2 separate regions of the Homo sapiens genome follow, and region 1 is linked to region 2. Evidence: promoter capture Hi-C in 16 types of primary human blood cells and fetal thymus (Javierre and others, 2016). All regions are on one chromosome and are shown on one strand. The core of a region is centred on a gene start or on the middle of the fragment in contact, and the rest is flanking DNA. Distances in the headings are between cores, read along the strand shown.

Region 1 (4,581 bases), core at 1,643-4,142, 130 kb before region 2:
CTTGAACCCGGGAGGTGGAGGTTGCAGTGAGCCAAGATCACGCCACTGCACTCCAGCCTGGGTGACAGCAAGGCTCCGTATTAAAAAAAAAATTTATATATATATATACACACACACACACACACACACACACACACACACACACACACACACGGCTCTTTCTCTGCCTTGCTTCCAGTTGAAGGCTATAGTATCTTCCCAGGAGGGACAGGCCACCAGCATTTCTCATTCCTCTCCAGCTACCTGTTGCAAGTGTGGTAAAAAGGTCAGGAGCTCCCTTCTTCTATCCAGTACTGCTCCTCCCCTCTTTTAGGGCAGAGGCTCCACCCCAGCCATTTGAGAATGCTGGAGCCCTGATCTCCCCTGGCCCTAGCTCATGTGTAAGGCTAAGGTTACATTCCAGGAGAGGCAAGTTGATAAGAAAGTTTAATGCCCCATCCAGCAACCTGCTGCTAAGGCAGCTGTGTCGCTCAGAGAGAAATAGGCCACTGTCCCTACCCATCTCTGGAGATTTTACTCAGGGAGAAAGCCAAGCCTTCAGAACAAAGAGCTCTGAAAGTCTCTCCCCAAAGAACTGACTTGACTTGAAACAGCGTGGGAGAGCTCAAGCCTAAGGGCATGCTCGAAAATGGTGGAGGAGGTTCTGTTGGTAAGTAATTAAGAGGAAGCTGGTAGCTTCATGAGACACAAGCTAAACCACAGGCCAACTAGTATACCAGAGAGAATCAGGGAAACAGCTAAGAAGGTCACTCCTGGGTTCAGAACAACTCTCAAACACCAACCTCTAAAACTACTCCTTTAAGGGAGCCTAAATTTAAGTGGACCAGATGCAGAACAATTTATGCCTCAGAGCATTGTCAAAAACAATAATCAGGTGGCAATTAGTGGAGCCTAAAAGCTGAGTGTGGTGAGGGAAAGAGACAGGAGAGCCCACCTAAAACCACTGTCATCCTAGGGTGACAATGCATGTCTAAAGCTGTGCCCTTTGAGGAATATACATTATGACCAGCAGGATTTATTCCAGGAATGCAAGGTTGGTTTAATATCTGAAAATCAATGTTATATCAATAGAATAAAGAACAAAACCCAATAAAGAACAAAACCCATATGATCATCACAGTAGATATATAAAGAGCACTTGACAAAATCCAACACCTTTCATGATAAACACTCAACAAACCTAGAAATAGAAGGAAATCTTGACTTGATAAAGGGAATCTACAAAAAAAAATCTATGGTTAACATCATACTTAATGGTGAAAACTGAATCCTTTCCAAGATCAGGAATAAGACATGAGTGTTTTTCTCACCACTTCTGTTCAATATTGTACTGGAGATTCTAGCCAGAGAAATTAGGCAAGACAATAAAATAAAAGACATCAAGAATGAAAAAGAAATAAACTGTCTCTCTTCCCATATAACATGATCTTGTATAAAGAAAATCCTAAGGAATCCACTAAACTATTAGAACTCCAATAGGTTCAGTAAGGTTGCAGAATACAAGATCAATATACAAAAATTGTATTTCTATATACTTGCAAAAAATCCAAAATTTAAGAAAACTGTTCCATATATGATAGTATGTGATACAGTTTGGATGTTTGTCCCCTCCAAATCTCATGTTGAAATGTAATCCCTACTGTTGGAGGTGGGGCCTGGTGAGAGGTGTTTGGGTCATGGGGCCAGATCTCTGATGAATGGCTTGTTGCTGACCTCTTGATAGTGAATGGCTTCTTGTGAGATCTGGTTAAGAGTGTGTGGCTCTTCCTCCTCTCTCTCTTGCTTCTGCTCGTGTGTAGTAGAAGTGACATGCTGGCTCTTTATGACCTTCCACCAAGATTTTAAGTGTCCTGAGGCCTTCAGCAGAAGCAGATGCTAGCACTATGCTTCCTGTATATCCTGCAGAACCGTGTGCCAAAATAAAACCTCTTTTCTTTATAAATTAAAGCAGCATGGGACTGGTATAAGGATGCACAATAGACCAATAGGAATACCAGTCAGGTATTCCTTTATAGCAATGCAAAAGTGGCCTAATGCAGTGTCAAAAAAAAAAATAAAATACTTAGTAATACATTTAACAAAAGGACAAATTTTATACTCTGAAAATTACAAAACATGTTGAAAGAAGATTTAATGAAAAGAAATCCCATGTTTATGAACCAGAAAACTAAGTATTAAGATGGCAATATTTCCCAAGTTGATCTATAGAATTAATGCAGTCCATCTCAAAATCCCTAGCTGGCTTCTTTGCAGAAAATGACCAGCTGATGATATAATTCATCTGGAAATTAAAGGCGGCCCAGAAGAGCCAAAACAAACTTGACAAAGAACAATGTCGGAGGACTCATGCTTCCTGATTTCAAAACTTATTATACTGCTACAGTAATTAAAGCTGCATGGGACTGGTACAAGAATGCATATAAACCAACAGGATACCATAGGATAGAATAGCCCAGAAATAAACCTTTATGTATGTAGTCAATTTTCAACAAGAGTGCCAAGAGTACTCAATGAGAAAAAGACAGTTTCTCCAACAGATATTGGGAAAATTGGATATACACATGCAAAAAAAATAACCTTGGATCCTTACACTCTACACAATAATTAACAAAATGGATAAAAGACCTACATGTAAGAGCAAAAACTATAAACCTTTTAGAAGAAAATGTTGGGGAGCAAATCTCTATGACCTTGGTTTGGCAATGGTTTCTTAAATATGACACCAAAATTTGTCCTTTTGTGCATCAAAAGACATTATCAGAGAGTGAAAAGATAACCCATCGAATGGGAGAAAACATTTGCAAATCAAGTATTTGGTAAGATTCGAGTATCCAGAATATAAAAATAACTCCTACAACTGAAAAAAAACTAAACTCAGTTAAAAAAAATGGGCAAAGTATGTTAATTAGCCCTATTGCGCCATTTCACTACATATACATGTTCCAAAACATCACGTTGTACATGATAAATATATATAATTTGCATCTGTTACTTTAAAAATCAATTTTTTAAAAAGGGCAAAGGACATCAATAGACATTTCTTCCAAGAAGATAAACAGATGGCCAAAAAGCAGATGAAAAGATGCTCAACATTGCTAATCACTAGAGGCAGGCAAATCAAGACCAGAGTTACCATTTCACACTGATGAAGATGGCTACAAGAAAAAAAAAAATCAGTGGGAAATAACAACTGCTGGGGAGGATGTGGTGAAATTAGAATCATTATGCATTGAGGATAAGAATGTCCACTGGAGCAGCCATGGTAAAAACCAGTTTGGCAGTTCCTCAAAAAGTAAAACAATTACCATTGGATCCAACAATTCCACTTCCGGGTACATACACACCTGACTTGAAAGGAAGAACTCAGGCCGGGCGCAGTGGCTCACCCCTGTAATCCCAGCACTTTGGGAGGCCGAGGCGGGCGGATCACGAGGTCAGGAGATTGAGACCATCCTGGCTAACACAGTGAAACCCTGTCTCTACTAAAAATACAAAAAATTAGCCGGGCATGGTGGCAGGCGTCTGTAGTCCCAGCTACTCGGGAGGCTGAGGCAGGAGAATGGTGTGAACCCGGGAGGCAGAGCTTGCAGTGAGCCAAGATCGCGCCACTGCACTCCAGCCTGGGCGACAGGGCAAGACTCCGCCTCAAAAAAAAAAAAAAAAAAAAAAAAGATTTAAAAAAGAATAAACTCTGGTATACCCTACAATGGAATATTATTCATCCATAAAAAATGAAATTCAGATACATGCTATAACATGGATGAGCCTTGAAAACATGTTAAATGAAATAAGCCAGATACAAAAAGACAAATATTATGATTCTATTTATATGAAATATCTAGAATAGGCAAATTCATAGAGACAGCATATTAGAGGTTACTAGGGGGGTGCTGGGCAGAGGGAGAGGAATTACTGCTTCCCAGGTGCAGAGTTTCTATTTGGGGTGTTGACATGTTTTGGAACTAGATAGAGATAGTGGTTGCACAACATTGTGAAAGTACTAAATGCCACTGAAGTGTTTCTTTAAAATGGCTAATTTTATGTTATGTGGATTTCACCTCAATAAAAATAATAAAAGATGATGAAATAATGCTACCAGACAGACAAAAGTTGGGAGAATTTGTCATTAGCACATCAGCACTGCAAAAAATATTAAAAATCTTTGGGCTGAAGGAATATTATTGGAGCTGGAAAGAGATGTAAGAGTAAAATAAGAGACGCAGAAACACATACTGCGTGATTTCACTCATACGTGGAATCTGAAAAAGTTGATCTAGAAGTAGAGACTAAAATGGTGGTTACCAGAGTGGGGATGATGGGGGAGTGGGGTGCTGGGGAGTTGTTGGTCAAATAATACAAAATTTCAGTTAGATGAAAAGAATAGGTTTAAGATAACTATCATTCAACATGGTGACTAAAGTTAATAACTACACTGTAATCTTGAAAAATGCTGATTTTAAATATTCTCACCACAAAAATATTAGATATGTAAATTAGCTACATTTAGCATTCCACAATGTATATATATTTCAAAACATCATGTTGAACACAAATACATACAATTTCATCTGTCAGTTAAAA
Region 2 (4,625 bases), core at 409-2,908:
GCTGAGGTGGGAGGATTACTTGAGCCCAGGAGGTGGAGGCTGCAGTGAGCTAGGGTCACATTACTGCACTCTATCCTGGGTGAGAACCTGTCTCAGAAAGAGAGGAGGGGGGAGGGGAGGGGAGGAAGGGGAGGGAGGAGGGGAGGCAGTGGACGCGGAGGGGAAGGGAGGGGAAGGGAGGGGAAGGGAGGGGAAGGGAGGGGGAAGGGAGGGGAAGGGAGGGGAGATAAAGGGAGGGGGAGGGGAAGGGAGGTGGGAGGGGAGATGAGGGGAGGAAAGTGGGGGGAGGAGAGGAGCAGAGGGGAAGAGAGGGGGAGGGGAGGGGAAGGTACGGGGGAGGGGAGATGAGGGGAGGGGAGTGGGGGAAGGGGAGGACAGGAGCAGAAGGGAAGGGAGGCGGGAGGGGAGGGGAAGGTACGGGGGAGGGGAGATGAGGGGAGGGGAGTGGGGGAAGGGGAGGAGAGGAGCAGAGGGGAAGGGAGGGGGGAAAAGAGAGATGGCACAAATTATTAATATCCGTCACCACAGATCTTACAGATATTAAAAAGATTGGGCATGGTGGCTCATGCCAGTAACCCCAGCACTTTGGGAGGCCAAGGTAGGAGGATCATTTGAGGGCAGGAGTTCGAGACCAGCCTAACATAAGACCGTGTTTCTCCCCCTCCAAAAAAAGACAATATTATGAACTTTATGCAAATTATTTGAAATTTTAGATAAAATGGAAAAATTCCTTGAAAACCACAACTTACCAAAACCACAACTTACCAGAAATAAAATAGAACATCTGAATAGTTGTATTTTTATAAAAGAAATAGAATTTGTAATTTAAAGTCTTTCCACAAAGAAAACTCTAGGTCCAGATGGCTGGTGACTTCTTCCAAACACATAAAAAATAAATAACATCAATCCTACACTAGCACTTTCAAAGAATAGAAAAAGAGAGAACACTTCTCCACACATTATATCAGCATAGCCTTGTTAACAAAACTCAACAGGGATCTCACAGAAAAGAAAAGAAAAGAAAATATGGCAATACATAAAAAGGACAGGCCAGGCGCTGTGTCTCACGCCTGTAATCCCAGCACTTTGGGAGGCCGAGGCGGGTGGATCGCCTGAGGTTGGGAGTTCGGTACCGGCCTGGCCAACGTGGTGAAACCCCGTCTCTACTAAAAATACAAAAATTAGCCAGGTGTGGTGGCGGGCGCATGTAATCCCAGCTACTCGGGAGGCTGAGGCAGGAGAATTGCTTGAACCCGGGAGGCGGAGGTTGCAGTGAGCTAAAATTGTCCCACTGCACTCCAGCCTGGGCGACAGAGCGAGACTCCATCTCAAAAAAAAAAAAAAAAGAAAGAAATGGGGGACGGACAAGGAGTCTCTCAGTTCAATTCCCCCTTCCTCAGCCCATTTCACCAAAGCCTGAAGCGGAAGAGAAAAACACGAGCCCCAGCATGGCGGGCGCAGCCACCCCCTCCTTCCACCACCAGACAAACTCCGTGGCCACAGCCCACACCGCCAGCGCGCATGCGTGACACGCGTCGGCCGCCGGTTTGCACCTGCGTCTTAAGAGGAGTCCGGGCGGGGAGGGGCGGGGCTCAGACGCTGCGCACGCGCACTCGCGACCCCTCGCCTCCTTTTGCTTTTTCTGGCGGGAAAAGCTCACGCGCACCTCCCCCAACTCAACTGCCGTTCGTCGTTCGTGGATGTCCGTTGTGTCCCGAGACTAGGACGTGGCTCCAGGTGCGCCCTGCCCCGCGGCGAGGTTCCCAGAATGGCCCTTCCCAGCCCCTACCGAAATCCTAGCGAAGCCCCCCCATATTGTGGGAGAGATACCCCTGCGTCAGGGCCCCCCAGATCCTGACCACTTGGGAGGCCGAGGCGGGCGGATCACGAGGTCAGAAGATAGAGACCATCCCGGGGAAGTGAAACCCCGTCTCTACTAAAAATACAAAAAATTAGCCAGGCGTAGTGGCACGCGCCTATAATCCCAGCTACTCAGGAGGCTGGGGCAGGAGAACTGCTTGAACCTGGAAGGCAGAGGTTGCAGTGAGCTGAGATCGCGCCACTGCACTCCAGCCTGGGTGACAAGAGTGAGACTCCGTCTCAAAAAAAAAAAAAAAAATCCTGACCACATCCCCTCAGATATACTGAAAGGAGTCCACCAGGAAATCTTATAGTTGACCCCCGAAATCCTGTCAGAATCGTCTAGAAATTGTCAGACTTCTCCCTCAGAGCCTGCCAGAAACTTTCCCCAAAATCCTATTACTCTCCCCAGATCAGCAGAGCCACCTAGACTCGTGTCAGAGATCCCCAGAAATCCTGGCAGGTCCCCTCCCAAACCCAGTCGGACCTCAGATTCCGTCAGAGAGCACAGAAGTCCATCAAAGACACCCCAGAAACGGAGACCCCGAAATGCACTCAGAGACCCCCGCAGAAATCAAGACCCTCCAAATCCAGCCAGAGACCCCCAGAAATCCAGTCAGACCCCTGCAGAAATCAAGACCCCCAAAATCCAGCCAGAGACCCCCAGAAATCCAGAGACCCCCGCATAAATCAAGACCCCCAAAATCCAGAGACCCCGAATAAATCAAGACCCCCAAAATCCAGTCAGAGAACCCCCAGAAATCCAATCAGACCCCCGCAGAAATCAAGACCCCCGAAATCCAGCCAGAGACCCCTGAAATCCAGTCAGAGACCCCCACAGAAATCAAAATCTCCAAAATCCAGCCAGACACTCCCCAGAAATCCAGTCAGAGACCCCCCCAAAATCCTGTCAGAGCCCTTGAAAGCCCGCCAAGGCCCACACCACCCAGAGCTCCTGCCAGGGCCCCATCCTGCTTCAGTGTCCCCGTCTCAGTCCCGTCAGACCCCCGAGATCAACCAACACCCCCGGGGTCCCTCAGGACTCCATCCCGAACCCACTCCGTGCGCCAGGGCCCAGCCAAGGCCATCGCCCCCCTTTGCACCCTGCAGGGTGTTCCAGACCCTGGAAGGGCCTCTCTTCAAAGACCCGTGTTTCCAGAACGGTGGCAGCGGGCTCACGTGGCTTGGGGAGAGCAGGCACTGGGGGAGCTGGGTGAGGACAGGCGAGCCCAGGCTCGACTGGTGGCCCCAAGGGGCGCCCGTGCCCGCTGTGATGATAGCAGCGCCCAGGTCTCTCTCTAGCCCCCAGAGTGCGGCCACTAAGGTTTTGGGTCGGCCTGGGTGGAATGGAGGCAGGATGGGGCCCCCCAAACTCCTGTCACTGCTGCAGGGACTGCCCAGAGCAGCTGCAAGTGGGGCTGGCAGGGATGAGGAGGAGGTGGCCTGGGCTTGGGGGACCATGTACATCCTGAGTTGGAACCCAGGGGAGCAGCAGGTTTGGGGCCATGATGAGGAGAGACCTAGGGGTTGCCCGACGGAGAGAAAAGGGACAGGAAGAGGCAGGAGCTTCAGAGACTACTCAATGCCACTCTAGCCTGAGGGACTGGAACTTAGTCCGGGGGCATTAGGGAGCCATGGGAGGATCAGGAGCAGGGGCAAGTCAGGATCAAACTCCCATGAGAAGCCAGCCGGCCAAATCCAGGCTGATGTGGCAAGAATGGCAGCTGCCCAGGGCTGTGTGGGAGCCAGACACGGCCCCTCGCTTCCCGGAAGAGGCCACGTGAAGCCGAAGCAGGATGCAGGAGGGCGTCCCAGGCAGAGACCTGGGCATGGGAGCGGTCCGCAGCTCAGAGTGGCTGGAGCATCATGTGCGATTTGGGGTGCTGAGGTGGGCGGTCAGCCATGCAGGGCCTTGGCGTCAGGGCCAGGGTCTCACCCGTACCCAGGATTCAGGGAGCCATGGAAGGGTACTTAGCAGGGGAGGGGCAGGTCAGCTCTGGGGCCCTGTGGGGACAGACTGGAGGACAAGCCTGGGGATAGGAGGCTGGGACAAAGGCCAGGGAAGAGGACCAGGCAGCCTGGACCGGCGGCAAGCCATGTGAAGAAAGGGAGGCAGTGACCTCCCCCACCCACCCACTAGCCCCTTTGATGTCAGCCACCTCGTTCTCCAGCCCACACCTCCAATCCATAAAACAGGTCAGAGCGGAGCTGCTCAGGTCACAGCGGGGGTGACAAACAGGTTGTGAGGACCCAGAGGTCCTGGGGCACAGGTGGGGCTAGGCAGGCCCCGACCCTTGGTGGCTGCTCTGAGGACACCATTTCCTGCTTCTCCTTCCAGGAGTGCTCGGGCCAGCTGGTCCTTTTCCCATCCCTCCCCATGAAGGAGGGAGGCTGGTAGCTTTGCCAGCAGCTGCGCCGCGGCAGGGGTGGCCCATGGACCTGCCCGAGGGCCCGGTGGGTGGCCCCACTGCGGAAAGTAAGTGGCTGGAACCCTATTTGCCCCGGGGAGGGTGAGGAGGGAGCCATGGGTGAATGGGTGCCAGGCTGTGACTCGGGGACTTGGGAGAGGTGGCTGGGGGTGGCTGAGCCTTTGCATGGGTGCAGAGTGGAAGGGAGGGAAGGGACTCTGGTAGATTAAGTGCCTACTCTATGCCCGCCCACCTGTCACTACCCCTTATCTCCTGTGGGGAGGCTGGACTGTGTGAGAGCGCAAGCAGCCGCACCCCTTACTCCATTCAGATCGCGGCCCAGATGGCACTTCTTAC

The links. The method cuts DNA at HindIII sites, captures the fragments that hold promoters and counts their contacts. A CHiCAGO score of 5 or more calls a contact.
Region 1: a contact is called between a fragment that was not itself captured here and the fragment with the promoter of KASH5 in region 2, in 3 of 17 cell types (naive B cells, total B cells and M2 macrophages). The highest score is 9.8, in naive B cells.

The regions. Positions count from the first base shown.
Region 1 is chr19:49,257,790-49,262,370 of GRCh38, forward strand. The region is part of intron 2 of LOC107985340 (a long non-coding RNA gene); the gene reads left to right. Among named protein-coding and RNA genes, the nearest start is that of MIR4324, 49 kb to the right of the region's middle. The HindIII fragment of the contact is 6,522 bases long and covers 1-4,581 here.
Region 2 is chr19:49,386,591-49,391,215 of GRCh38, forward strand. It overlaps KASH5 (KASH domain containing 5), which reads left to right and starts at 1,659. Exons shown (of 20, transcript NM_144688.5): 1 at 1,659-1,737; 2 at 4,199-4,336. The coding sequence starts at 4,294. It overlaps LOC101928295 (a long non-coding RNA gene), which reads right to left and starts at 1,491. Exons shown (of 3, transcript NR_110729.1): 1 at 766-1,491. The HindIII fragment of the contact is 10,613 bases long and covers 1-4,625 here.